Linked DNA regions of Homo sapiens: all the other regions are linked to region 5. The links are contacts of gene promoters, found by promoter capture Hi-C in blood cells and fetal thymus (Javierre and others, 2016). All regions are on one chromosome and are shown on one strand. Each heading gives the region's core, a stretch centred on a gene start or on the middle of the fragment in contact. The rest is flanking DNA. Distances are from core to core; before and after follow the strand shown.

Region 1 (2,700 bases), core at 201-2,700, 600 kb after region 5:
GGACATGGAATATGCTCTTGATTCTTGAGCTTTTCGTCGCTCTCCAACAGAGTAGAGAGGTCAGTCAAGGACAAAACCCCCACCCCACGACTAGCTCCCAGCAGAGGGCATCTTTCTCTCTACCAAACTCAGATTTCTTATGCAGAGACATCTATGGGAAAGACACACAGTCATCACCCATTTGACACACCCACCTACATGATAGATGTGTATGCACACACTCACCTATCTACACATACATGTAATGTGCTCCCATTTGTAGAGATTGCCCTGCTGACAGTGTTATCTATGTAGGCAGATATGCAGAAAAGACTTGCCTTCCCATCCATAATACACAACAGCAGCTATTGCCAGTAAAGATTGATGCTGGTTATAGGTTTTTGCCTTTTCCTTGTGTTTTTCCGAGAAGCTAGTTGGTCCCCACTGATTCCAATTATGCCGCTTCTTTTCTTCAGTGTGGTGCTTCGCACTCTGCTGCCTGCCCTGCGTGTGGTCACCCAACACCCTCAGCATCCAATAGCGAGCTCCATAACCCTGTTTGTTACCCAATACCTCCGCTTCCCCTTCTGACCCTGGCCTACCACATTTAAAATAGACCCAGTTCTATGAAGGACAGTGATGAAATGCTCAAGAATCAAGGGCATATTCCATATCCTATTTCCATGTCAATCAGTGTGTCAGCACCAGACATCAAGTGCATTAGTCCTCAGCTCAGTTTCATTGAGGAAAGGGTATAATTGCCTGTGGAGTTTCTGTAAAGCAATCTAGCAAAAGACCTTGTAATAGTCCATCACAGTAGTGTTGTCAATAATGCTACAAGGTGCCTCCTCATTTTTACTTCTTGTGCCTCAAGACCCTAAGAATCAGCCTGCAACAGCTGCAAAATAAGAATTCCTCTTCATTGTTCATAGTTGTGAAAAAGCTTCCTAATAAACCACAAACATAGACTTAATTAGCTCCCAGATCCCTTGGATTCCATGAGGGAAGAGGAATTCTCAAGATAAATCCTCCTTTTTGCTGCACCCCTCCTGAAAGAGTCTTCAGATCAGAATGAACTATGAGCAGCCCACCCCTTACAGTTAAGTTCATGCACCCTGGTCTACTGATTGCACTAAAACATCCAAAATGGAATCTAGGTGACCCCCTAGGGAGGATCCTACAGGAAGGTGGGTCTCAAGATATCCTTGGGCACTTCTGTCATCAGTCTTCTTCAATTTTTTTTTTTTTTTTTTTTGAGATGGAGTCTCACTCTGTCGCCCAGGCTGGAGTGCAGTGGTGTGACCGTGGCTCACTGCAACCTCCACCTCCTGGGCTCAAGTGATCCTCCCACCTCAGCCTCCCTAGTAGCTGGGACTACAGGTGTGCACCATCAAGCCCAGCTAATTTTTGTATTTTTTGCAGAGACGGGGTTTCACCATGTTCCCCAGGCTGGTCACAAACTTCTGAGCTCAAGTGGTCTGCCCACCTCAGCTTCTCAAGTGTGTTGGGATCACAGATGCGAGCCACCTTGCCCAGCCTCTTCAATTCTTTCTTAAAGGTGGTGATGTTGGTGGTATCTCTGAAATCCTGTGGCCTTTCTCAGTTACCCATAGTTGATAAGGAAGTCTCCTAAGATCTAAATGGTTCCTCTCTCCCAGGCTTAAAAATACTACAATATCAAGGCAACACCGTTGTATTGGAAAAGAGCCAGTTTCTATGTGGTCATATTTTGTGAAGTGCCTATGCCACAAAGGCCCTCTCCCAGGGTTTATATCACTTTGAGAAGAGAATATGAGACGTGGACAGGGAGAAGATAGGAAGAGGAGCATGATGCAGGCACACCTAGACAAAGAATAATAACGGTACTCAGATTCCTCTACAGTTTATTGTTATAGCAGAAGTTGTGGGAGACGGGAGGGCACCCTCCACACATACTACAGTGTGGTCAGAGCCCCAGGGTAGCCCTTTCCACCCTATGCCAAGCCCCAAGCAGCCCAGCCCAAGCTTAGCTCCCTCCCCAGTCCCACTCTAGATGCACACTGAGCTACCAAAGTTAGTGCAGCCAAACGGCCCCAGGCCCCTTCCTGTTGCCCCAGCACCAATCCTTCCCCACACTCGTTCACTGCCCGCCAACTCCCATTCCAACTTCCTTTTTACACTGGATGTTTCTATCACATCCTGAGGACCACTAACCCACCAGCAAGTCTCCCCCTGACACACATTCACGTAGGTCCATACCCTTCAGAGTCCTAAAGGGTTAATGAGAAGCCACCTCAGCTTTGGTGAATGGAGCCCCAGCCCCAAATCCCCTCCCCTTGCAAATATGGGACAAGTAGGGAGAGTCTGATGGAGGCACCAGGACAACTACAACAACCTCTTACCCCTCAGCTATAGACACCTAGATCAGGACAGAGGATGCATATGCCCTCTCCACCTTAACATCAAAATGGGGGAGGAGGAGAATTTAGGGGTCTGGGTCCCTAAGAGATATTAGGACATCTCTTCCAGGAGCTGGGGGGAATCACGGGTTAAAGGTCAAGGTTAGGGTAGCAATCAAAGATCAAGGTCATCTCCCCGCATGATCTGCCCTTTTTCCCTTGCTTACGGTGGCCCAATGCCCCTTCAGCACCTCCCAGGTTAGCTCTGGGGGAGGTGAGGGCTGGGTCCCACTCTAGGGCAACAAGGGCCATTCAACAGGAGACCTCCATGGTGTGCCCCGGG
Region 2 (2,700 bases), core at 85-2,584, 580 kb after region 5:
GAAAAGCTGGAAAAGAGGCAAGTGTCAGCCTAGGATGTGTCAGTGGGCCATGCATTCATCTACAGGAAGGGCGGTTCCGCCTGGAAGAGGCAGAGCGGCCCTTCTCCCCCTGTCCACCCATGTCTCCTCACCCCACCTCACCCCGAGATGAGGAGCCCTGAGAGAGCTGGCAGGCTGCAGTCGGTGAGGTCTGCAGATTTGGGGAAGAAGTCGAATAAGGTAGAGAACCACAGAAGGAAAGTCCAATTAGGGCGCTGGGGCCTGAGATCATCAGGCCCTAGCCTGATGACTCAGGAGTCTAGCCCTCCAGATGAACTGGCTGGTTCCACACACAGGTCAAGTGGATGTGCTGGGAGAACATCCTAAACCTGTAACGGAAATTAGGGGGCCAGGAGCCCACAGAAATCACACACTGGGTGAGCTCAAGTGTTCGGAGACTGAGGTAGCAGTTGTCCACTGTCAGGTCCCGAAAGTAGATATCGCCTTGCATATGCCATTTATCCTTCTGATGCTCTAGTGAATGAAGGTGTTGATGAGCTTGCAGACTCTGGAGACCATTCCCCTATGCTATATTATCACGTCACAATAGTGGCTGGACCCACCTGAGATTCTGCACCTCAGGTAATCAGACGGCTACTGTCTAAGTCCTGGGCCTGGGGGAAACACTCTGACGTAGCAGCAGACACAGGAGGGTCCCCGTCAGAACCATGTTTTCTGTGAAGTGGGGATCAGTCCTTTTCCCTGAAGTACCTAGCACATAGGTGTTCTCAGTAAGTGTTATGTTAGCTTACTAAGAAGACTGGTCTCATTTGAAGAGAAATTAACAAATGTAAAAAAATAAATAAACCTATTAACTAGGTTTAATATTTATCAAACTATTAACTATTCAATAATCATTTAACTATTAATTTCTGTTTTCTTCAGTCGCTTAAATCTGATTTTTCTCTTCTTTCCGTTACTGCAGTCTCCCTTTTTCACACAGGGAAACAACCCAAGACTCAGAGTTCTCCGCGGAGGAATGCAAAGAACACAGGAAGTCAGTACTCCCAGAAACAGTCTTTGCTGGCGCGCTCACACCCAACCCCATCCCGCCCCCGTCCCGTCCCGCCCCGCCCCACCCCACCCTCTTGATTTCTGGGGCCGGTGACCAGGCCCAACGCAGCCTTCAAGTCGGCCCAAACACGGTTTCTGCCTCAAGGATTATTTATATAACCATTGCTTATTGGCTGCTGGCAAACACTCGCTCTTCTCGTTGGCTGAAACTGTCGGGAGAAGTTCTGCGAAGGCTGCTCCTTGCGGCGTTGGGACTGAGGGTCACAGGCACCTGTATTTCCGTTTCCGGTTCGCCTCCGGAGCCATGGCGGCGGCACTGAAGTGTCTACTGACATTAGGAAGATGGTGCCCCGGCCTTGGAGTGGCTCCCCAGGCCCGGGTGAGTGCCTACATTCCCTGCTGTCGGAGAGACTCTGGATCTGCAGAGACATCTCCGCGCAGAGGAGGAGCGCTCCTGGCAGCCCCCGCCCTAGCGATTGCCAGCAACTTTCCTTTCTGCCAGGAAATCAACCTACCTTTCTCTGCCTGCAGGCGCTCGCCGCCTTAGTACCCGGAGTGACCCAGGTAGATAACAAGTCCGGTTTCCTGCAGAAGAGGCCTCATCGCCAGCACCCTGGCATCCTAAAGCTGCCGCACGTGCGGCTGCCACAGGCACTGGCTAACGGTGCCCAGTTATTGCTACTTGGTGAGTAACGGCGGGAAAGCGAGAAGAAACGGGACTGGACCTACATGCAAGTGATTCCGCTTTTCGTCTTTGGCCCATAGGGAGCGCTGGGCCCACTATGGAGAATCAGGTGCAAACACTGACCAGTTATCTCTGGAGCAGACATTTGCCTGTAGAGCCAGAGGAGTTGCAAAGACGGGCTAGGCATCTTGAGAAAAAATTCCTGGAAAACCCAGGTAGGACTTAAGAATAATTAAAAAGTGGGCGAGATTGAAATATCGGTTAGAAATGAAGAGTAAGAAATAATTCTACAATCTCTCAGATACTGAAGTCTCTTATTTGACTTTCTAACCAGAGCAGCAGTTGTTACAATGATGCCTTACTAAAAGAAGGTAGATTATTTTAGAGATTGCTTAGGTAAAGGTCAGAATGTCCCAGTATACTGTTTTTTGTTTGTTTGTTTGTTTTGTTGTTTTGTTTTTGCTTTGAGACAGAGTCTTGCTCTGTCACCCAGGCTGAAGTGTAATGCTCGATCTCGGCTCACTGCAACCTCCGCCTCCCGGGTTTAAGTGATTTTCCTGCCTCAGCCTCTTCAGTAGCTGGGATTACAGGCGTGCACCACCACACCCGGCTACTTGTATTTTTAGTAGAGACGGGGTTTCATCATGGTGGCCAGGCTAGTCTCGAACTTCTGACCTCAGGTGATCCGCCCACCTTGGCCTCCCAAAGTGCTAGGATTACAGGCATGAACCACCGCGCCTGGCTACCAATATACTGTTAAAATCTAGATATTTATTTTTTTCTGCAAGTCCACTGGATTAGGACCTTCTAAGTTTTTATTCAGGTAAAATAAAGTCCCTGGATGGTCCCTGCCCAGTACTGAAACCCTCTTCTGGGATAAGAGGGTAAATATAATTCATCAAGTTAGTTTCATGATTGTGAGCTCCTTGACACTACCATTTATTCATCTTGCATTCCCTGCA
Region 3 (2,700 bases), core at 24-2,523, 640 kb after region 5:
ATGTCCTCCCCCTACCCCCACCCCACCATGAATGGGCAAAAAGAAGAGCAGTTATAGCTCTTATCAGGATGCTTACCTGTGCAAGACTCCAAAACCAGTAAGCTTGGGAACATCCACGGAGCCACAGGGACATGAGAAAGCCCACATTGCTAATGAGATCTTGTAAGAAGTCCACAGTTCATAAGAGGAAAGGTAAATAAAAATGTGTGCTCGTGATGAAAATACACACTGTGATAGAACGCCTCTTAGCTTAGGGAGGTGGGAGTTTCCCCATCTATATAAGCTGATCTCAAACTCCTGAGCTCAGGTGATCTACTCTCCTCAGCCTCCCAAAACTGCTGAGATTACAGGTGTGAGCCAATGCGCCTGGCAATAATGTTACCAACAGATGGTTTTTGGGCTTGAATACCTTCAGGGACATGGATCTTCACTACCACTTCACAAGAGTATAATGTGGATTAAAAGTAACAATACATATAAAGCACTTAGTACAGTGACTAGCATGTAGGGAAAGTTTGAATGGTGTTAGCATTTCTATTTATCATTGTGGTGTCAAATGTTGAGTGGTCAAACCTGTGATGAATGGAGCAGGCCTGACTTCCGTGACAGAAGAACAAAGGATTTAAACAAGGGAGGCCAAACTCCTCCTCATCCGCCTCTTGCCAAAAAGCTCCTAGCCAAGAGTAGATAAGGGAAGGTTCAAGGTCAGACAAAAAGGACAATATGTATTAGTTTCTGTAGATAAGGTTATTTGGGAGGAATGGATGGGTACTTTGAGTTGAAGGAGAAGTAAAAGGGGGCTTTGGAGAATTTCTGTTAAGATTACTTAAGGGAAGTTTTTCTCCTCTGCAACCTCTGTGAATTTATGAATCCAAAGATATGAAAATAAGTTGGAGGACTTAGGACCACTAACTTTTGAGGGTGCCCTCTGTATTCCCTCCCATCCAAAGGATTTGATTATTGCAGCAATTGATGGAGACAGGGCTCTAGTGACATTTCCAACTTCCCCTCCTGAGATATTTAAATTAGTCCTTAGGAAGGCTTACTATCCCCTCACTTCCATCGTGGAAGCCTCTTATATTTTTCCCACCCTCTGATTCAGCTCCATTTTCTGGTTCATTTTTCATCACTCAAAACCTCCACCAACGCCTGTGACTCATGTCCAGTGGATTGGTTATAGCAGAAAAACATTGTGGTCATTACTTTCTATGGTTTTTTCATAGAAACTTAGTTGAACTTACACATTTAAAACATAAACTAACTGTGGTGTGAATTAGTACAAATTCCTGCTTGGGTCGTGGCATTTAGCACAAGATGAAATTTCCTATCTCCATGGCTTTAGGGCTCTCCCAGTAGTAATCATAACATTATAATGCTGCAAGACATCTTGTCCAGTGTTCTCGGAGATCATCTAGTCATGCCTTCCTCATGTTGCAAATGAGCAAAATAACCCTGAGGACTTAAACACTTTGCCCAAGATTACATGAATAATTTAGGCAAGAACTCGGGCTTTTTTGAACAAGCCTTGTGATATTTACAAAGTGGCATTCAATATCAAATGGATCTCAGACATCTTTCTTCTTTTTTTTTTTTTTTTGAGATAGAGTCTTGCTCTGTCACCCAGGCTAGAGTGCAGTGGCACGATCTCGACTCATTGCAACCTTGTTGAGCTTTTTGGCCTCCCAGGTTCAAGCGATTCACCTACCTCAGCCTCCTGAGTAGCTGAGATTACAGGTATGCACCACCATGCCCGGCTAATTTTTGTATTTTTAGTAAAGACTGGGTTTCACCATGTTGGTCAGGCTGCTCTTGAACTCCTGACCTCATGTTCTGCCTGCCTTGGCCTCCCAAAGTGTTGGGATTACAGGTGAGCCACTGTGCCCAGCCCAGATATCTTTCAAGATCAAATCATACATGGACTGGCAAATCAATCTGCAAATGGGCAGACCCCCGGATTTGAGACAAAAGCATGTTCATCCAAAAGAGTATTAAGTGCCCGTAATCCTGACACGTTGCATTTCTGACCTTCACCTGAATGCTCATATTGTATCATTGAGATGGGAAAAAAACAGTACATGAGGAATTGATGGCAAACTAGTCAAGCATGTCCCTGGCCGTGCCATTGGCTGCTGGAAACATAAATAAGGATATGCAACAAGAAAAAGGGCCTGGACCTCCCATCTGCTACTCCGGACCAGGGTGAAAACATTACAGAGATCCTGTTTGGTGGAGCTCCGGGTGGGCCTGAGATATCCCAAGCATTTATCTTTGGTAAGGGTTACCACTTTTTACCCTTGAATTTGGCATATCCAGAACAGGATCTTCATGGTCAACTAGAACCTGCAGAGCAATGCTTCCCAGAATTTCCCCTGAAGTGCTAGTAACCACAGAGGAAGATGAACTAAAACACCTAAAGTAGTGCCCAATGAGCTTGGGCTTTCTCTGAAGCTTCTTTCACTTAACTAATATTTATAAAATAGCCGTGCATATGAGTGTTTTATATGCTATCTTTAAATTTCATTTGTGGTAATAATAATAATGGATCAATGTCAATTTCCCCTTTTTGGTGGCTGTACTGTGGTTATGCACACGAGAGTACTTGTAATTAGGAAATAGTCACTGAAGTATTAAGGGGTAATGAGCATCATGTCTGTAACTTGTTCTGAAATAGCTCAGAAATGTTAATAATTGGGGAACTGG
Region 4 (2,700 bases), core at 111-2,610, 790 kb after region 5:
TGAGTAAACTAAAGTAACGAGAATAATATTGTAGATCTGGGCAAAGTTGGGCTGGCAGCTAGCTCTAGCTGGTTATTTAGCAGACTACCCTGTGGTTTGAGGTAATTTCCCCCAGGAGGGCCAATGGGGACTTTGAAGTATTTATGCCTCTTTAAAAACTTAAGTATCCTTAAAACAGGGAGGGACAATAAATGCAGCAGACACCAAGACATTATGGTCCATAGAAAGGTTAAGCCTGGATGGAAACTAGTAAAGTTGTTAACCAACGACCACACTAGAAATGGAGTCTGAGTCATTGAACTTGACGGGTGGATTCTTGGATCAAGAATTTTGGGGAGGGAAGGCTATGTCCCAAATTCACTGCAACTTCATTATTGTGGCTTGTGAGGGTCTGCAAAAGTGACTGAATCTTTGTCACTGGACCTCTTTCACATTAATGTCCCTGTGGGAAAGACCAAGTCTTTCTTTAGAACTCGTGCAATGTCACTGCCAGGTGCTTGTAATAGTCCATGGCAGGCATCAAGAGTAGAAACTTGGCTAGACACAGTGGCTCACACCTGTAATACCAGCACTTTGGAAGGCTGAGGTGGCCAGAGATCAAGACCAGCCTGACCAACACGCGAAACCCCATCTCTACAAAAAACACAAAAAAATTAGCCAGGTGTGGTGTCGAGTGCTACTCACGAGGCTGAGGCAGGAGAACCACTTGAACCTGAGAGCAGGGGTTGCAGTGAGTTGAGACTGCACTCCAGCCTGGGTGTGAGAGTGAGACTCTTGTCTCCAAAGAGTAGAAACTGTGGTTTTCCCAAGATATTTGGAAAAGTTTGTCTTCTGGGCCAGAAGAAATGGTTTAAAATACACGTTGTGGGTGGGAGAAGCTGTATTTTCTCTATATTCCTGCTTCACTTCTAAAGCCTAACAAAGTTGCATGAAATGGCAGACTTTCAGCTGTTAGCCAGGCACTGCTCAATATGCTCTTGAAACTATTCAATCTATGAAACGACTCTAGCCCTCATTAATAGAATGAAGAGAAAAATGGTATGGGGATATTTTTCCCCTTTTGTTAACTTAGAGAAGTTGCTAGGATCCTAGTCTCTTACCTCTATTTAGGAAATAGTTTATTCAATTTCTAGGACTACAGACTACAGTTCAAAGACACCATTTCCTCTGCCAAGGTCCAAAGCCCATGGAGTTAAGTCAGAACATAGATCAAATTTTTGGCTCTACCATTTGAATAACCATAGGGCTTTGAACAAGGCAATCTCTCTGAAGCTCCTTGAAGCACAGAAATTATTTGCATACGTACGTAATAGAACTGTTGTTTGAGAAACAACAGTCTATGTCAATTAAACGCTGGCCTAACAGGCTGCACACAAAGCCTATAAAACATACTCTCTTCCCTGGGCATGAAGCAACTGATTGACAAGATGGGTTCCTATTTAACAATAGTTTATTCTGTAAGAGGCACTGCTATATGAAGGTGTGAGCAACATGGATTAAGCCTGCAATATCGTCCCATTGAAGACGCCCTCACTAGGGAAATCTTCAATATTAAAGCCTAAGGTCTAGGAAAGAAAACATCAATGAACTCAGGACACACAAAATATTGGAGTCACATTTGTTCATGTACGTTTGAGTTAGTAACCACTAGCAGTACTTGTGTGGAAACTTCTCAATATTCTACAGCACTTAACTATCCAATAAAGTAGTCTCACGTCACACGTCTCTAAATAAAAATTTAAATCTAACTCTTCACACTAGCCACATCTCAAGGCTCAGTAAAGTCACCAGTTGTTATACTGGTCAATGCATCATAAAACACTTCCATCGCCACGAAGTGTTACTGACAGTACTATAGCTTTAACAGCTCACTGTAACATGCGTTGATAACAAGGAATTTTCCCCCTCCCTAACCACCAGATGACTCTTTGGGTGCCTTCTTTACTCTGGGGCCTAGACTTTAATGAGGGTACACCTTGGCCCTTTTAGCTGCCTTCAGTTCTTTGATGAAAACATACCACTCACACATCCTCTTACTGCACTTAATTCTGACATATACAGTCATCCCTCTACTAAACTTATTGGCCAGCCACCCAGCCACCGTTTCTTGAAACCCGTGTCCTTTCCTAATCCTCACCCCTCTTTATCACACAGGGTTTTTTGTTTTGTTTTGCCTTTGGTGAGTAGTTCACAATTTGGGCCAAAAATTGGAATTATGGCAACTTAAAAAACAACGAAGAGTCCCAACCCCAGAGATTTAGTAGGCCTGGAGCACACACCTGGACATCAGAATTTAAAAGCCCATCCCCCTGCTCCCAGGAAATTTTAATGCACATTGACAGTTGAAACCTATTAAACTCCACAAATTTGGTAATGTAATAATCCAAAAGCCACAATTTTCCTAGACTTCTGAAAGTCTTGTAGGAGTTATTTTTGCAAATGCAAATTTGTCAGAGCTTCAGAGCCATGTTTCTCCAAACTTTTATTTCTGAGTGCCACTTGAAAAAAACAATCCAAACATGCTTTCCTCTTCCTATCTGCATTTATCTTGGGTTCTAACTCCTTCCTACTAATCCCTTTGTCATTTGCATTCACCCCCTTACACTGTTCTCCCCTTCCTCTTACTATGCTTTGTAGTTCTACTCACAAAGGGCGTTAACTCCAATGAAGAAGCCCTGCTTTTCAAAATTGAGATTTAAC
Region 5 (2,700 bases), core at 40-2,539:
CGTTGCCCTATATAAGCCCCCAAGGAAAGGAGTGGGGAAACTCAGAATTGACTCAGATTTTTTTTAAAAGAGATCTCAAGCCAAAAATAAACAGAAAAATAAGGACAGTTTATTTGAGCAACATAGTGAGACTGTCCTATCCTTAAAAGGACAGTCTCACTATTTTGCTCATTTTATTGTTTTGCACCCTGGAGTTTTTGAAAGGAGATTCGGCTGAACCACAAATGGAAAGTTAAAGTTCCGTCCCCACTTCCATCTCTAGTTCCCTTCTCTGGAAGTAAACATTGCTCACAGTTTTATACTAACAGTTTCACAGTTTCTATGCATATGCAAATACATGCCTTCACCATCACCACTGCTTTTGCTTTTGCTTTACACAAACAGGATCATAAGTTAGATGCTATTCTGCACTTAGTATATCTCAGAGACCTTGCCCTGTTAACACATTAATACCCACCTCACTCTTTCCTTTTTTTTTTTTTTTTTTTTTTGAGGCGGAGTCTGGCTCTGTTGTTCAGCTCACTGCAATCTCTGCCTGCCGAGTTCAAGCGATTCTCCTGCCTTAGCCTTCCGAGTAACTGGGATTACAGGCGCCCACCACCATGCCCGGCTAATTTTTTTGTATTTTCAGTAGAGAGGGTTTTCACCATGTTGGTCAGGCTGGTCTCAAACTCCTGACCTCAGGTGATCCCCAACCTCCGCCTCCCAAAGTGCTGGGATTACAGGCGTGAACCACCGCGCCCGGCCTCCACCTCACTCTTCAAGTGGCTGTATGGTAGTCTAGCACATTTAAGCACAGTCTGGGTTTCTATTATCACAAACGGTTCTCATACTACCATTTGTTGGTGACAGCCACTGTCCCCTTTCGATGGGCACACAGGGCAAGGAAGTAAGAGGGGATGATTCTTACGTGGTCTCTCTTCCTGTCCCTCCCTCTCCTTCAGCCTTCTCCTCCTCCTTTCTCACCTCCCCTTTCACGCAGTATACACTCCCTCCCCTTCCCGGAGCCGCCGGGAGGAGCAGGGTGGATGCACCCCTAGCTGAGTCTCGGGTGGTTCCTAACCGGCCCCGCCAGGCACTTCCCACCCAGCTCTCAGCCTCAGAGCCCAGCGCCCTAGACCCAGGGCCAGGGCAAGTTCTGCCTGCGCTCGGACCCTACCTTAGACTGGGGCTGGAAACCCTGGGTGCCTGACCTGGGGCGTCCGATTCCCGCAGCAGGAAGCAGAAACTTCGCTCTGGATTCTGCCGGTGGGAAGGGTGGCAGCCGGGGGAGGAGCCGGATGCGGATCTGAGAAGAGACGGTGCGGGCGGAGACTCTCGGGCCCGGGCGGGGCGCAGCAGCTGCTGGAAGGGCAGCGAGCCGAGGGCCGGGCAAGACGACATGCCAGGGCTGCGACGCGAATGCCCAGGACCCCTGCCGCCTTTTCTGGGGCCCGAGTTTAGTTTGTTATTGTTTCTATTTTTTTTCCCTTTCTGGTCCTATTTTCTCCTGTCCCTAGGGCTTCCCCCTCTACCAAATTCGTCTCCTCTGGCTAATTTTCGTCTTTTTTTCTCCCATTAACTCTTCAAACACCGTTTCCTGGAAAAGATTTTAGCATGCTCGCTGCCTAGCTGTACACCTCTCCTTCCTAATATCAAAGACGGTCAGACTCAATTCATCCTAAAGTTCCTTTGAGGAACTCCTTAAAAGGAGACGGAAAGCGGAAAGCAACCGCCTGTAACCAAGTGTAGACATCAGTCAATCAAAGTTCGCTGAACTGAGAGCAAGTGCCTCCCCTCCTGTTGATCAGAAGAGAGATCCGTGGATCACACAGAATCTATCTGGAGCCATCCTGAATGATTAATGCTGAACCCTTTCCAGGAAGATGGAACCAGGCTTAGGAAAGAGACAAGTGACCCTTAGGTTAATAATCCTAGCTTCATAAAGAGAGGACCAAACATAGTAGCAGGAGAAATATGCTTTCTGCCTTTATATAAAGCAGATTAGCTGTCTTCTGGAAAATATCATTGCTTTCCTTAGAGAGGTACCCTTGAGTCTCAGGTAACAGCTGAGCTTCCGCTCAGAATTGAGGGCATTCTGTCCTCTATTAACTGAGCCAGTACCCCTTTCCTTCCTTAGAAACCTCTATTGCCACCAGTCCCAACACTCCCTGCAATGGTCTTTATGTTTGTGTCTCCCCAAAATTTATATATTGAAACCCTAATCCCAATGCGATGGTATTTAGGGTGGGATCTCTGGGAGGTCATTAGGTCATGGAGTTTAGAATACTCATAAATGGGATTGGTGGCCTCATAAGGAGAGACGGAAGAGCTAGCTAGCTCTTTTTCCACGATATGAGGATACAAGAAAACAGCCATCTGCAATCCCAAGGAAGACCCTCATCTTCAGAGGCAGACCATGCTGGCAATCTGATCTTGGACTTCCATTCTCTAGAACTGTGAGAAATAATATTTGTTGTTTAAGCCACCCGGTCTACGGTAATTTGTTATAGCAACCTGAACTAAAACATTTCCTTTTTATAACAAATATTTTAAAGCTCTTTTTATTTTTCTGAAACATAATTCGTAAAGAATGTAACTTACCCCCACGCACAATTTTAAACCAAAATTTAAAGACAAAAAGTAGAGACAGGGTTTTGCTATGTTGCCCAGGCTCTCTACCTCCAGGGCTCAAATAGTCCTCCTACCTTGGCCTCCCAA

The links. Contacts are between HindIII fragments. The CHiCAGO score rates a contact against its expected background, and 5 or more counts as called.
Region 1: a contact is called between a fragment that was not itself captured here and the fragment with the promoter of TEP1 in region 5, in 1 of 17 cell types (monocytes). The highest score is 5.1, in monocytes.
Region 2: the fragment with the promoter of METTL17 here is called in contact with the fragment with the promoter of TEP1 in region 5 in 1 of 17 cell types (monocytes); the score reaches 5.2 in monocytes.
Region 3: a fragment that was not itself captured here is called in contact with the fragment with the promoter of TEP1 in region 5 in 1 of 17 cell types (M1 macrophages); the score reaches 5.9 in M1 macrophages.
Region 4: a contact is called between a fragment that was not itself captured here and the fragment with the promoter of TEP1 in region 5, in 1 of 17 cell types (monocytes). The highest score is 5.5, in monocytes.

What each region holds. Positions count from the first base shown.
Region 1 is chr14:21,014,927-21,017,626 of GRCh38, forward strand. NDRG2 (NDRG family member 2) reads right to left here. Exons shown (of 16, transcript NM_001320329.2): 16 at 1,846-2,700. The coding sequence ends at 2,670. Among named protein-coding and RNA genes, the nearest start is that of MIR6717, 7.1 kb to the right of the region's middle. The HindIII fragment of the contact is 1,061 bases long and covers 921-1,981 here.
Region 2 is chr14:20,988,646-20,991,345 of GRCh38, forward strand. METTL17 (methyltransferase like 17) reads left to right here and starts at 1,335. Exons shown (of 14, transcript NM_022734.3): 1 at 1,335-1,432; 2 at 1,585-1,738; 3 at 1,819-1,953. The coding sequence starts at 1,358. RefSeq lists a silencer at 982-1,111 and an enhancer at 1,862-1,911. The HindIII fragment of the contact is 15,587 bases long and covers 1-2,700 here.
Region 3 is chr14:21,048,186-21,050,885 of GRCh38, forward strand. LOC105370398 (a long non-coding RNA gene) reads right to left here and starts at 510. Exons shown (of 4, transcript XR_943588.3): 1 at 77-510. It also overlaps a transcript of NDRG2 not described here. The HindIII fragment of the contact is 2,346 bases long and covers 101-2,446 here.
Region 4 is chr14:21,204,332-21,207,031 of GRCh38, forward strand. It overlaps LINC00641 (long intergenic non-protein coding RNA 641), which reads right to left and starts at 2,569. Exons shown (of 2, transcript NR_038971.1): 1 at 2,280-2,569. The HindIII fragment of the contact is 2,828 bases long and covers 1-2,700 here.
Region 5 is chr14:20,412,212-20,414,911 of GRCh38, forward strand. It overlaps TEP1 (telomerase associated protein 1), which reads right to left and starts at 1,290. Exons shown (of 55, transcript NM_007110.5): 1 at 1,194-1,290. RefSeq lists enhancers at 128-1,044, 154-323, 874-943, 1,444-1,493. The HindIII fragment of the contact is 9,686 bases long and covers 1-2,700 here.